5 separate regions of the Homo sapiens genome follow, and regions 2, 3, 4 and 5 are each linked to region 1. Evidence: promoter capture Hi-C in 16 types of primary human blood cells and fetal thymus (Javierre and others, 2016). All regions are on one chromosome and are shown on one strand. Each heading gives the region's core, a stretch centred on a gene start or on the middle of the fragment in contact. The rest is flanking DNA. Distances are from core to core; before and after follow the strand shown. Region 1 holds the start of ACVR1 (activin A receptor type 1). Region 2 has its middle 35 kb from the start of CYTIP. Region 3 has its middle 67 kb from the start of CYTIP. Region 4 overlaps ACVR1C (activin A receptor type 1C). Region 5 overlaps CYTIP (cytohesin 1 interacting protein).

Region 1 (2,700 bases), core at 125-2,624:
GCTTTTCTCCCATGCAAGCAGCGTTCAAATCTCCAGGGGAAAGGAGGGGTGGGGAGGGGGTGGGAGACTATCTGGCACAAACTGGACAGAGCCGAGCCAGTCTAGAACCCGACGGAAGTTACTGAATCCAGCGGCCCCAGAGGCCCACATCTCTTCTTAGTGCGCCCGAGGTTCTAGCCTCACTGTTTTGGTTACAGTGTTGAAGGAAGGGTTTTAAACTTGGCAAAGTACCGTGCAACATCTGTAACCACATTTGCCTTCTGGGGATCGGAAGATGAATCCCACATTCCTGGCTTTGAAGCTTTTTGAAACTGCAGCTAGGAAGAACCGAGGGAGGGAGGGAGTTGAGCAGAGTTTATTGGCTGTCTCTCCAGCAGAAAATTCCTCTTGGAAGAGATGGATATTTTGAGGGTGGGGGAAATTCGCCTATCTATCTCCTTACTCTCTACAAGCTCAGCTAGGAAGGTAAGCCCCGTGGCCCCGCGGCCAGATCGATTTACAAGTCAGAGTCGCACACCCTGAAGGAGTTCACAACACACACACACACACACACGCACTCACACACACCCCAATACAAACCTGAGACCCCCGCTCCACGCCTCTGCCCCCCCACCCCCCATATCCCACCAGCAGTTCAGGCCCAAAGCAAGACAGTTTTGTTCCGCGGCTGCTTCCCCCACGGAGAGGGGATCAAGCTTGGGGGAGAAAGGAATGAAAGCGAGGGGGAGGCACCGCAGACGCCCACCCTGCCACCCCCGATCCCTGCCTCTTCTCCCGCTAGGCTACCTCCTCCCTCAGTCCTCCCGGCTCCAGCAGGCGCGGCCGGCGACCTGCGCTCACCTCGGGTCCCGCCGCGGCCGGGGGCTGAGCCGGGGGAGGCGGAGTGCGAGGCAGCCGGGCGCTGCAGGTCGGCGCGGCGCGGGGCGGCGCGGGGCGGGGCGGGGCGGTGCAGCCGGCGAGGGAGCCCGGAACTCTGCGGGGCCGGGAGCCGGGGGCCGAGGGCCGGCCCAGAGCGGCGGCGGCTGCGGTGGCTGCAGCGGAGCGGTGCGTGGGGCCGGGAGCTTCCCGGCCCTGGGGCCGGCGCGGCTGGCCGAGGAGCAGGCTGGCAGCGGCAGCGGCGGCAGCGGCAGCCACCCGGGGGAAAGAGCCGGGGGAGGGCGGGGAGGCGGGGTGAAGAGGAGGAGGAAGGGGAGGAGGGCGGGCAGAATAAACTTCCCGAGGCGCAGAGGCTCGGGCTGGGAGCACGACCGCGGGCGGGGCGGGCGGACCAGCTGGGCTTGCCCCCGGGGGCGGCGGGGGAGACCGTCACAGAGAGTAGAAAAGTTCCCCCTGCGCCGAGGGGGAGGCTGCGGCGGCGGCGGCGGCTGCAAAGAGCAGGAGCCGGAGCGGGAGGAGCGGGAGGAGGAGGAGGAGGAAGTGGCTGCGGAGCGCTCGGCCAATGAGTGTCTGGAGCTGTGATTAACCAGGCAGCAACACATCATTTCCTCCCGGCGCGGATCCAGGGAGCCGGGAGGGGAGAGAGGAGGCGGCGGGGCGGGGCCGTCCCCGCGCCCCCTGCAGGCGCCCGGCCGAGGGCGAGCCCGCCGAGCCCCGCCGAGCCTGACCGCGCCGCCCCCGGCGCGCCTGGCGCTGTCTGGCCGGTCGCTTGGCCCGGGTGGAAGCTATGAGCGCGCCGCCAGCGGGGCTCCTCGGAGGCGGCGGGGCAGGCCCGAGCTGGGCTCCTGTGGCCGGGGTGGGAGGAGAAGAGGCCGCGCGGCACGGGTGAGTGCCCAGGTAGGCGCGGGCGGGGCCGTCTGGACAGCTCCCGAGGGCGCGCGGGGCAGGCGGGCGGACGGGCGGGCATCCCGGGCCCGGCGACTGCGGGCGGCCACCTACTCGAGCCCTGCATGTCAGACTTGGGCTGGATTCTCAGAGAGAAGCCTTAGCATTCTCATCCAGGCCATCTCTGACCTGCCTTCAGATCCCCTTCCACTTTGCTCATTTCCTTGCAAGGTCTAGGGTTATGACAGAGCTTGCCATGTTCGCCTTTGGCTTCCTTAGTAACAGAAATAAGCATGGAGGGGCTTCTGCAGTGATCTAGCCCTGTCCTAGGCGCCATGGGAGCTTACAGTGGAAATGCAGGAACATTCTCCGCTGCAGAGAGTCTGATAACCTCGGTCCTTAGATACACAAAAACACCCCAGTGTGCTAATATTACCCAGAGCATCAAAAAGGCATGCAAGGATCAAATTTTGCATGGTTCCTGCTGAGTGTAAAGGAAAGCACTAAGCCATTTTCTCTGCCCTCTAGAAGCTTATAATGTACAGTCCTATCACAAAGCAGAATAAAAACATGAAACCTATAAATGGGAATGCCATAAAGTATTTTTATCTCTACAGGTTCATTCATGCAGAGGGCATTTATTGGGTGACTGCAGTACTGCAAAAGGTTGCAAAGGAAATGGAAGATCTGGTCCCTGCAGGTTGGGAGTTTACAATCTAATTAGAAATACAAGGCATATATACGTGAAAAAACTAGAATCCCCAGCTGTAAGCAAAAGGATGGAGTAGGTGGGAGCATTTTTTTCATAAAGAGAGCTTTGTACCTGTATGATTGGTGAGGAGCAGGAGAGGCAAGTTCAGTACCAATCAAGGCAAGAGCACCTATATGTATCCCTGCTCTATAGAATGATGTAACAGGGCCCTCATTGTCACTTGGCTG
Region 2 (2,725 bases), core at 63-2,562, 470 kb before region 1:
ATTTTGTTTACATTTTATGTTAAATTTTACATAAAATTTAAAAAAGTATTTAAATTTTCTCAATTAATTCAAATACTTTATTATTCCACTGTGGTTTTTATTTATTCGTTTTACTCTTTTTAGTTAATTAAAATGTGCTTATTTTTTAGTAAACTTTATTTTTTAGAACAATTTTATATTTACAGAAAAATTGTGAAGATAGCACAGGGTTCCCAATATTAGATGTGAATAGGGGAGACTGAGCGCAAAAATACTTTGTACCCAGTTTCCTATTATTCACATCTAATGTGATTATGGTATATTTGTTACAAGTACTGAACCAATATTGGCACATTATTAACTAAAGTTTAAACTTTATTCAGAATTCCTTTTTACCTAGTGTCCTTTTCTGCTCCAGGTTGTTCTCCAGGATACCATGTTCTATTTAGTCATCATGTCTCCTTAGGCTTTTCTTGGCTATGACAGATTCTCTCACTCTACTCATTTTTAATGATCTTGACAGTTTTGGGAAGTGCTGGCGGATATTTTATAGAGTATCTCTTAATTGGAATTTGTTTGGTGTTTTTCTCATGATTAGACTGAAGCTATGGGTACTGGGCAAGAGGACCACTGAGACAAAGTGTCATTCTCACTATATAATATCAAGGACACATATTAGCAACATAAACCTATGGCAATTGATGTTGATCTCGATCACCTGGCTGGAGTAGTGTTTGTCAGGTTTCACTACTGTTAAATTACTTTTCCCCTTTTTCCATACCATACCCTTTGGAAAAAGGTCATCATATTCAGCCCACACTTAAGGAATGAGGAGTTCTGCTCCTCTTCCTTGAGGGTGGAGTATCTACATAAGTAACGGGAAATTTTTCCATACAGGAGGTTTGTCTCTTCACTCCATTTATTATTTACTCAGTCATTTATTTATATCGCTATGGACACATGAATGTATACTTATTTTATATTTTGGGTTATAATTTAATACTGTTTTATTTGTTGCTCCAAGTGTTTCATCTTTGGCCATTAGGAGCCCTTCTGATTGACTTCTATTTCCCTTTGACATATCTCAATCTTTATAAGGTTTTTTAAAAATATTTTATTACTTTCTGACATTACAAGATGCTGCAGGCCCTTCTTGTTCATTCCCTGCCCCAGACCTAGAATAAGCCATTTCTCCACGTAACTCTGGTTTATTTTATTGGGGAATGGTATTAGAAGCCAAGATCTTGGTGCTATGTGTGTTCATTGCTGCTAAAGTGTCATTACTTCCTTGACCTCTCAGCTGACAGAGCAAGGAAATAAGTGTGTATAAACTAATTCATGCATACACAGATATCTATAAATATTTATGTATGTAATCATCCATACTTTTATTAAGCTAATATTGAGTGCATACGGATGTCTAATCTAGCATTCTCCCTTACTTATCTGTGAACTTTGAATCCAACAGTAAGAAATCTGACTCCCATTATCAGCCATAAGAATTTATTAACTCTTCAATTGCAGTATACATATGTAGCACTGTCAGAGTTATTAATTGTATTCATGTGGAAAGCAAGTTTTTCTGTTAAGTTTTTCTGTTAGAGCAGAATGTTTTTGTGTGTTTTATTTTGTCTTTCATTTTATAAACTCCAATCATTTCCAGAGCTACTTAGCTCAGCATCTTTTTTTTCCACGCTCTTAAGTTGTTTTATACATTTTTGATACAGTTAGATTGTTTTTGTCACATTCTTCATTCTATCCTGGGATCCCCCAACCACCTAAGTGGATTTTTTGATAATTTGCATGCTTTTAGGATAACTCTTCATTCTGTAAAGTGCTATGGGTTTTGGCAAATGCAGAGTCATGTATCCAAGATTACAATATCGCACAGAAGAGTTTCATCACTATATAAAACTCACCAGTCTTCCTCCTATTCAACCATCTCCATGCCTTCTTCCCAGCCCTAACTCCTTAAAACCACTCATATCTTTACTATTGCTATAGTATTGCCTCTTCCACCATGTCATATAAATGGAAACATACAGTATTAGTCTTCTCAAACTAGTTTCTTTTACCTAACAACATGCATTTAAGATTCATAGTGTCTTTTAATGACTTGATAGATTATTTCTTTGTAGCTGAATAATATTGCATCTTATAGATGTAACCGTTTGTATATCCATATTTTCTCACAGCCTATGACTTGTCTTTTGATTCTCTGAACAGTGCCATTCACAAAGCAGAAGTTTTAATTTTTATAAAGTCTAATGTATCAACTTTTTCTTTCATAAATCATCCTTTTGATGTATCCAAAAACTCATTACGACACCAAAGGAAATCTAGAATTTCTCCTATGCTATCTTATAGAAGTATTATAGTTTTGTGTTTTATACCTATGTCTATGATCCATTTTGAGTCAATTTTTGTGAAACATATAAGAGCTTGCATATTGGACAGAACCATTTGTTGAAAACACTATCCTTTCTACATTTAATTGACTTTACTTCTGTGTCAAAGATAATTACTATATTTGTGTGTGTCTATTTCTAGGCACTCTGTTCTGTTCCACTGATTTATCTGTCTATTCTTTTGCCAATACCATGCTGTAATGATGACTATATTTTATATTAAGTCTTTAAAAGGATATTGTAATTCCTCCAACTTTGTTGTTCTTCAGTATTTTCTTGGCCATTATATGTCTTTTGCCGTTCCGTATAAACTTTAGAATTAATTTGTTGATGTCTAC
Region 3 (2,700 bases), core at 7-2,506, 370 kb before region 1:
ATCAGGAGAAAAAAAAGATATATACATATGAATGAAACATATATATATGTATAACATATGTGTGAAATATATGTGTGAAATACGTGTGAAATATATATATATAACTATATATATACACATATAAAATAAAACTCAGGCATTTAACAACAGGTGGCAGCATAGGATTATAATCCCTAAAATAAGGGAAACACCGAGCCCCACTATTGCCCAGGGTCTTTCTTTTCCTAGAGGCACTTCTTGAAAGATTGTGAGGAGAAAGGCTGAACCAAGCTAAGCTATCACATGGCAGTCTTGCTAAGTGAAGGAGACAGATATTGAAGTTTGACAAGTCTAAGATAACTGGTATTTGCAGAACCAGAGGGAGCTTCACAAGGAAGCAACTTTGAAACTCTGCAGTGAGGTACCCTTGAGTCTTTTTCTAAATGCTACGTAGTACCTACTTAGGAGAACCTTCATGAAACAAAGCAAAGAACAATTTTTGAGAAGCAGTAAAAAGAACAATCCCCAGAGTTCACACAGAGTTTGGGAGATGTCTGTGTACTGACCAAGAAGAATGTAGAGAATTTACTGAAACCTGGGGCATTCAGTTGAAATCCAGGAGGATTACACCTTTGTAGTAAGATTAAACTAGTCCTAGCGTTAAAGCTACTCTAGACCTTCCCTTACAAAACTTAAAAACAACACTTAAAAGGAGCAAACTATTCTTCAGTGCTCTTAGATGCCTTCCAAATCAAACTTCAACTCTCCTGAAAGGATGGCAATAAGATCCAGATACTCAATAATGTAACCTTTACAATGTCCAGTGTCTAATAATAAATTACTGGGTATGCAAAGAGAAAAAATATAATTCATAAATGAAAGGGCAGTTTTAAAAAAACAGACTCAGAGAAAGACAAAGATTTGAAAATAGCTATTATAAATATGGTCAAGCACTAAAGCAAATATAGAAATAGTAAACAAATGGAAGCTATATAAAAGAGACAAGTGATACTTCTAGGGCTAAGAAATACAGTATCCAAAATGAAAACTTCACTGGAAGGGTATATTAGGAGATTTTAAAATGCAAAATAAAGGAGTAATAAACTTTAATAAATAAGCAATAGAAATGAATCAAATTGAAGTACAGAGAAAAAAAGAAGCTGCAGAAAAATGAGAACCTCAGTTACCTATGGAACAATATCAAGTTGTCTGATATACATGTATTTGAAGCACCCTAGAATAGAGGAAATAGTGCATGGAATAGAAAAACAACTCTGAAGACATAGTGGTGCACAGAAATTTTGCAGATTTAATGAAAACCATAAACACACAAATCCAAGAAGTTCAGTGGAACAAAAGTAGGATAAAAACAAACAAAAAGCACACCTAAGCCCATTATAATAACATTTCTGAAAACCCATCTTAAGATGGTTTTTCAGAAAAAAAAAAAATCTTAAGATGGCAAAAAAAAAAAAAGTTACAATACAAACAGAGAAAGAGAATTACTCCTGACCTTGTCAGAAACAATGCAAATTAGAAGATAAAACAATGTATTTAATGTGCTGACAAAAATAAGCCAGAAAATCCCCAAAACTGCTTAGAATTCTATGTCCACTGAAAATATCCTTCAAAAATGAAGGTATTTTTAAACTAAAAAAAGCTGAGAGAATTTCATGCTCTATAAGGAATATTAAAAATAATCTTCTGACTGAAAAAAGTAATATCAGTCCAAACTCAGATCTATACAAAGAAGTTACAAGCATCAGCTATAGTAAATATGAGAAAAAAATGTTCATATTAAAAATATTTTCAATGTAATTTATTTAAAATGGACTGTTTAAAGCAAAAAATTACATCGCTACATTGTGAAATTTAAATAGATACAGAAATAAAATGTATGACAACCAAAATAAAAAGGACAGGAGGGAGAAAACTAAAAATACTTTGTAAGATTGTTATTATATGTAATGTGGCATAACAGTTTTTGAAGGTAGATTATGATAAGTTAAAAATGTATATTGTAAATCATAAAACACACCCTAAAAAAAAGCAAAATCACTAATAAGTCATAGAGAAAATAAATTGGAATATTAAAAATAATGAACTAATCAAAAACAAGAAAAAGTAAAAAAAAAAGGAGATGAGCAAAGTGGAAAAAATAGTAAGGTAATAAAATTAAAATTAATTATGTTGATAATTATGTTAACTATAAATGGTCTGTACACTCCAATTTTTTTTTATTTTTCTTTAAGTTTCAGGGATACATGTGCAGAATGTGCAGGTTTGTTACATAGGTATACATGTGCCATGGTGGTTTGCTGTACCTATCAACCCATCATCTAGGTTTTAAGTCCCGCATGCATTAGCTATTTGTCCTGATGCTCTCCCTGCCCTCGCCCCGCAAGCCATGACAGGCGCCGGTGTGTGTCGTTCCCCTCCCTGTGTCCATGTGTTCTCATTGTTCAACTCTTGCTTCTGAATGAGAACATGCGGTGTGTGGTTTTCTGTTCCTTGCACACGCTAATTTTTAAAAGTGAAAAGTTGTCAGACTAGAGAAAAATGTAAGACCCAACTGTACACGATCTACAAGAAATCTACTATAAATATAAGACCCATATATATTAAAGTATGGAAAAATATATACCATGCAAATACTAATCATAACAAAGCTTCAGTGGCTATATTAATATCAGATAAAGTAGCTTCAGATCAAGGAATATT
Region 4 (2,787 bases), core at 191-2,690, 280 kb before region 1:
AAGAGTGATTTGACTGCTCTCCTTTTTTTAATGACCCAGACTAGATTCTAGACGGTCACACAGCAGGTAGTATCTGGTGATGGTCCAGCCAAAGAATTTGGGAAAAGACAAAGGTCTCAGCCCTCACTCTGTCACTAACTTGCTGATTGACTTTGGAGAAGACATTTAACCTTACAGAGCCTCAGTGTTGTCCTCTGAAAATAGAAAATGAACAGCATAGGGAAAGTGGGTCCAAAAATCTTAAACTCTTACATAACACCAATATTTTATGACCCTACTTATTTACACCTTATGGAAATCTACAATTACAAAATAGGAAAACTCATTTAATGTTAAGAAACTTGCTGCACTATGGTTATTCTTCACTTGCATATTTTAAGGGGCTAAAGGCAGGAAAAAGAGTAACTCTTCTGACACACAATCTCAAACCATTTGTCACTAGACATTTCATCAGAATCTCCTTGGACGCTCTATTTCCAAGAAAAGCTTAGCAACTGACACAACTAACTAAGGAATATGAATCCACAGAGTGAAGACAATCATAAAGCACTCAACAATTAAATATATGTTAGTTTCACATGCATTCGTCATCTCATATAATCCCACTGCAACTGTGGGAGTTAGTTGTCACTATCTCCATTTCATACATAACAAAATGAGGCTCAAAAAGACAAAGTGACTGACTTACGTAACAGTCTCTGGACTACTCAAGCAATGGTACCTTTCATGACTAAGGTGCCATAAAGAAATGGGTAGGTGAACAATTCTCCCACCCCACAAATTTCTAGCAATTGTGAATAAAATAGAATTCTAATACAGCAGAAAGAAGCTGATAACTAATTAACAATTGAAAACTAGGATTCTGATCTGTATTATTCTAATAGCCTTTAAAACACAGTTGGTATTTTTGAAACAAATTCTACCTACCTATTTTCTGAGGGGACATGCAGTCAAATAAAATTCAATATCATGTGCCTTGCATCTAAAATAAACAATCTCACCTTACAGCTTTATCTAAATTCTGTATTAAGTAAGGCTCTGAGTACATAATCTGATACTTTCTCTTTGAAGCACTACTGGCTCCTTATAAAAATGATTACATAATAGTTCTTACCAAGGATTTATGCGGATACTCACTGAATGTTTCACAAGCTATAAAAATTTATCCTGGTTAAAAGTAAAAGTTACAAATCTTAAGAATAATATAGACATAGGTGATATAGTTAAGACAGAAAGTGACACCTTACTTTAAATCTTGCACGATGAAAAACACTGGCAAAATTGAGGATTTGTTAATGATAATGGCTTCAAACATCTGCTACATGTTCCCATTTATTCCAGTTCAACTGGCAGTATGATAGGACTGACAGCGAACAAACAGCAAACTAAATAGGACCTAAGATGAATAAGTAACATACGACATACTCAGCCTCTCATATTTCATTTCCCACCAGTCCACTATATCACTGCATTTGACATATAATTCAACTATATTTATATTAATCATCCTCAACATAGAACCTTTGTGCTGCCAATTACAATATAAGTTGCCATTAGTGATTAGACATGATTTCATATTTTGTCTCTTTCAAAAAAAACTGATGTTCATTGAGTCAATTATACTACAATATTCTGTGACAGAACAAATCTGGTTGTTAGTAGGCAGTAGTCTTGTCTCATGTTTATTTTATACTTTCCCATTACAATGTATTTGAGTCCTATGGAAAGGGACAGCAAATGAGGTTGAAGAAGGAAAACAATTACCCATAATAAGGAGGTTTATTAGATTTTTCACCACAAGGAAGATTGTACTTTGCTTTTGTCTCCTCCTACCCCTTTAATTATCCCCTTTTATCCACTCTTTGCCAATTCGTCTCTAAAAGGCAAGACATCTGTTACCCACAAGACATCTGTTACCCACATCAACTAAAGGATGTGCACATTCCTAACCAACCAGAAAATAAATATTCATCCATATTTACATGTGATGGCTAGCACACCCTGGTGTCCAGAAATATAAAAACCATCTGACTACAAAAAAGAACCAAATTTGTTGATCCGCATTTATGTGCTATTCTTATTAGAAAGCCAAATATTTATTTGGCAAATATTAGGTGTTTTGAATTAGACAGTATTCTCAATATGTTGGTTACATATTACTACGTTTCCTTTGTTTGGAGTCTATATGCTAAAATTAACCAGTGCTTAACATAAACATCTGACATAAACTCTTTCTTCTTTTCCAGACATTAGTTTATTCAATTTCTCTAGTTTTAGACCAGGCTATGAAACACAAAATATTTTTTTAATTCAGAAAACTGTCTCAGATTTGACCTGCTGAATATGTAATCTTTTCATCATTTGCAGGCTTCTGAGTTAACAAAGGGAACAATTCAAGCTTTTCAGTGTGCTGAATATGAAAAGTACAGCAGCAGGAAAGAAGCCAGGAAAACTAGCACTAGCAAATCTGAAGGAAAGCCAGACAGGGTCAAAGGAAATCGGGCAAAGATCTAGCTTCCTTTTCTATTCCTTGTCAAAATTTTATTTTCTTGTCATGTGGTCATTTCAAAGCATTTGCCTTTCTTAACAGTAAGGAAAAACAGAAAAAAGAAAGAAAGAAAGTAGCATTAATAAAATATGGGCAATATAAATGCAAACTTTTTTGGCCAAATGAGCTTTCAATAAAGATTCAGCTGGTAGAAATACTACTTCTCAGGCTGCAACCAAAAAAATTCAGAACTCCACAAATAAGGGAAAACATCCATCACAAAGAAAAACTGTTCCTTT
Region 5 (2,734 bases), core at 92-2,591, 450 kb before region 1:
AAGAAAAGGTGAAAAAGTTAAACTTTTTTAAAAAGATGTTCACTAAGATTATCTTTCTTTTGCAAAAACAAATTAACTTTAAATTCAAGTACAATATGAACCACTGTTTACCCCTCATAAAAATGTAGCAACAAAAATGTTAGAAATGTTTTCTTTAAAGTCAACCATAAGATTACCATTATTTACAGTATATTGATGATCCTAGCCAATGCTATAGGAGAGGAAAAATAAATTAGTTTCAATAATTGAGCTAAAGGGGCAAAAAATTTTATTATCTGCAAATGATAAGAAATCTATATAGAAAATATAAGGAAATCTATAAAAATTATTATTAGAATAAAGGGAGTTCAACAAAACTGGATTTTTTAAATTTAAACAAAATCATTAGCAATAAGTGGCTGAAAATTAAAAGATTAATATAGCAAGAACAATGAGGAAGTAAACAAGAATGAATATAATAAATGATATGTAAAAATATAGGAAGATAATTACAAAATATTTTTTAAGTCCATAAAAGATCTGAATAAAAAGATTGAGATCCTGAATTCAAAGTGAGAAAAGTGAAAGCCATAAAGATTTTAATTGCTCTCATTTATTTCATAAATACAATTCAATTCCTGTCAAAATTTGAGCAGAGGTTTTTTCAAGGAATTCTATAAATTGATTTAACAAAGCACAGAGATAAGCACAGTGGCAAGAGTATCCAAACCAATGTTGACAAAGAAAGCAAGACTTGTTGATGAGTTGGATGTGGAGGAAGAAAAAGATACAAAATAAAATCCACTCTCTTGGGCTCAATAATTAATAAGCTCATATTTCATGAAGAAAACTAACAAATGGCAGCTATTTCTAAATAAAGCCAAAGTAAGCAACCTGCTTAAAGTAAACTACAATCTCTGCTCAGATTGGCTACCTGGTTGCTCTGCAAGGGGGAGATTGGGATGCAGAGGTCACTGAGACAAACAGAGAGGTCTTTAGAACTATGACTCAGATGCATGAGTGAGGGTCTGGACTTCATGGCTTAGGAGACCCTCATCAGCCCAGAAAACTGAGATTTTTAAAAGCCTCAAAAAACCATCCCAGGGAATTTTCAATGGACCTCCTGCATTATTTACTATCTCTTGGACGCTAATTTCTTCCTCCTTTGAATTTGCTAGTGTATTTGCCAATGAAAGCAGATTCAAGGACAGTCACAGGATTAGACGGATAAGGTTTTCGTTTTAAGGATGAGGCAGAAGAGAAGGACACCAAAAGAGGACACGGAAAAAGTGAAAAACCCAGGCCCTCCAACACACTTGGGAAAATAATGACCTTTTTTGTTTTAATTCCAAACAAAATGTAAATCAATAGAGATCACAGGTGCACTAATGAAGAGTTCTTCAAGTGGCATGCCTTCCTGTTGCCTTTCTGAGCCTCATAGACACACAGAAGGAGGAAGGAAGAAAGTGATTTACACTGGTTTGCAGAATTTGATATTCCTCCAAAGGTAATTGTGCGGCTCTTGATAATTCAGCAGTTTAGATTCACCACGACATTTCTTTTTCAAGGGCTATCTCAGTTCCTCAAATAGATCTTTATTTTACCACTCACACATTCAAGGATGAAAAATGTGCCTCACTGCATTAAATTAAATTACCTTTAAAACCTGCAGCTTTGCTTCAAGCTCCGTTCTTTTCAGAATCATTGTTCCATTAAGAGTCTCTATCCTGTTTTAAGGAAAAAAAAAAGAAGAGGAAGGTGGGGAGTGAGTAACATGAGTGATTCGTTTAAATAAGTACCATACTACAGAGTACTACACTTTGAGCACATACTATACTAAAAACGAAATACAAATGTTACAGTTCTCATGGCACTTCGAGTAGCTGGACCAAAGCCAAATCTTCTGATAACAGAGAAAGAAAATGGGGGAAAACTCCCCTTGAGAAGGTGGCTAAAAGAAAGGATCCTAGTTAATTTGTAAACTATAGCTTATTTTATAGAAGTCACTATGTGACAATGATGGCTGCTCTCTACTAGAATCTGTTCTTGTGGGGATGGGCTGAATGACCTCACTCATTTGGTAAATATTTATTGGGCATCTACTATGTACCAGATTCTAGAAACCATGCTGAACACAAGGGGCACAACAACAGAAATAATAGGCTCTAGGGGCTTTCACAACCATGGAATTAACATGCTACTTCTTGAAAGAGGGAGAAATCCTTTCCTCCATAGGATTCTAGGAGCCTTTACCTCTGTAAATCTCCTTATAATTTTGGTACTAGAAGAAACAGAAGTACAACTACTATGACATAATAACCTTCATATGATTCTTTATCTCAAAACATTCAGTTTACAAACTCTAATCCTAGAATTATCAACTTACCAGTGTTCTGTTCTTCCCACACCACACACATTTCTAAAAATAAAATACTTGTTCTATTCTGAGTGATTTGATTTGTTCTGTGTGTTCAAGTTAAAGGCTTTTATTTTGACTACTAAACCATCAATCTGAATATGATTTAAAAATTTCATTTGTGAATCACACACCAATTTTTAAAGTGTTGGTTCAAGTTCCTTCTTGTAATTAAGCTGTACCTCTCTATAAAGATGCAAGGAATTTTTCAAGGCATGGTAAAAGCATTAAATGTGGAGATCAGTCTTCTACTTCTAATAGCATCATGCCAGGAATAATCAGGTGGTAGCAAGCTATATACTGTCTGTTTTCTCCTTAAGGTGATCTTGACTCTCTGAG

What was found. The method cuts DNA at HindIII sites, captures the fragments that hold promoters and counts their contacts. A CHiCAGO score of 5 or more calls a contact.
Region 2: a fragment that was not itself captured here is called in contact with the fragment with the promoter of ACVR1 in region 1 in 2 of 17 cell types (total CD4 T cells and fetal thymus); the score reaches 6.0 in total CD4 T cells.
Region 3: a fragment that was not itself captured here is called in contact with the fragment with the promoter of ACVR1 in region 1 in 1 of 17 cell types (activated CD4 T cells); the score reaches 8.1 in activated CD4 T cells.
Region 4: a contact is called between a fragment that was not itself captured here and the fragment with the promoter of ACVR1 in region 1, in 1 of 17 cell types (non-activated CD4 T cells). The highest score is 5.0, in non-activated CD4 T cells.
Region 5: a contact is called between a fragment that was not itself captured here and the fragment with the promoter of ACVR1 in region 1, in 1 of 17 cell types (non-activated CD4 T cells). The highest score is 7.1, in non-activated CD4 T cells.

Annotation. Positions count from the first base shown.
Region 1 is chr2:157,874,956-157,877,655 of GRCh38, forward strand. It overlaps ACVR1 (activin A receptor type 1), which reads right to left and starts at 1,375. Exons shown (of 11, transcript NM_001111067.4): 1 at 841-1,375. It overlaps LOC105373714 (a long non-coding RNA gene), which reads left to right and starts at 1,629. Exons shown (of 2, transcript XR_923518.3): 1 at 1,629-1,761. RefSeq lists silencers at 847-1,056, 1,147-1,196, 1,207-1,426, 1,487-1,726, 1,747-1,936 and an enhancer at 1,322-1,616. The HindIII fragment of the contact is 1,597 bases long and covers 694-2,290 here.
Region 2 is chr2:157,407,895-157,410,619 of GRCh38, forward strand. No RefSeq gene overlaps it. Among named protein-coding and RNA genes, the nearest start is that of CYTIP, 35 kb to the right of the region's middle. The HindIII fragment of the contact is 6,019 bases long and covers 1-2,725 here.
Region 3 is chr2:157,509,797-157,512,496 of GRCh38, forward strand. No RefSeq gene overlaps it. Among named protein-coding and RNA genes, the nearest start is that of CYTIP, 67 kb to the left of the region's middle. The HindIII fragment of the contact is 2,780 bases long and covers 1-2,646 here.
Region 4 is chr2:157,591,199-157,593,985 of GRCh38, forward strand. All of the region lies in intron 1 of ACVR1C (activin A receptor type 1C), which reads right to left. Among named protein-coding and RNA genes, the nearest start is that of ACVR1C, 36 kb to the right of the region's middle. The HindIII fragment of the contact is 1,912 bases long and covers 485-2,396 here.
Region 5 is chr2:157,425,715-157,428,448 of GRCh38, forward strand. It overlaps CYTIP (cytohesin 1 interacting protein), which reads right to left. Exons shown (of 8, transcript NM_004288.5): 6 at 1,637-1,706. Among named protein-coding and RNA genes, the nearest start is that of CYTIP, 17 kb to the right of the region's middle. The HindIII fragment of the contact is 3,928 bases long and covers 1-2,734 here.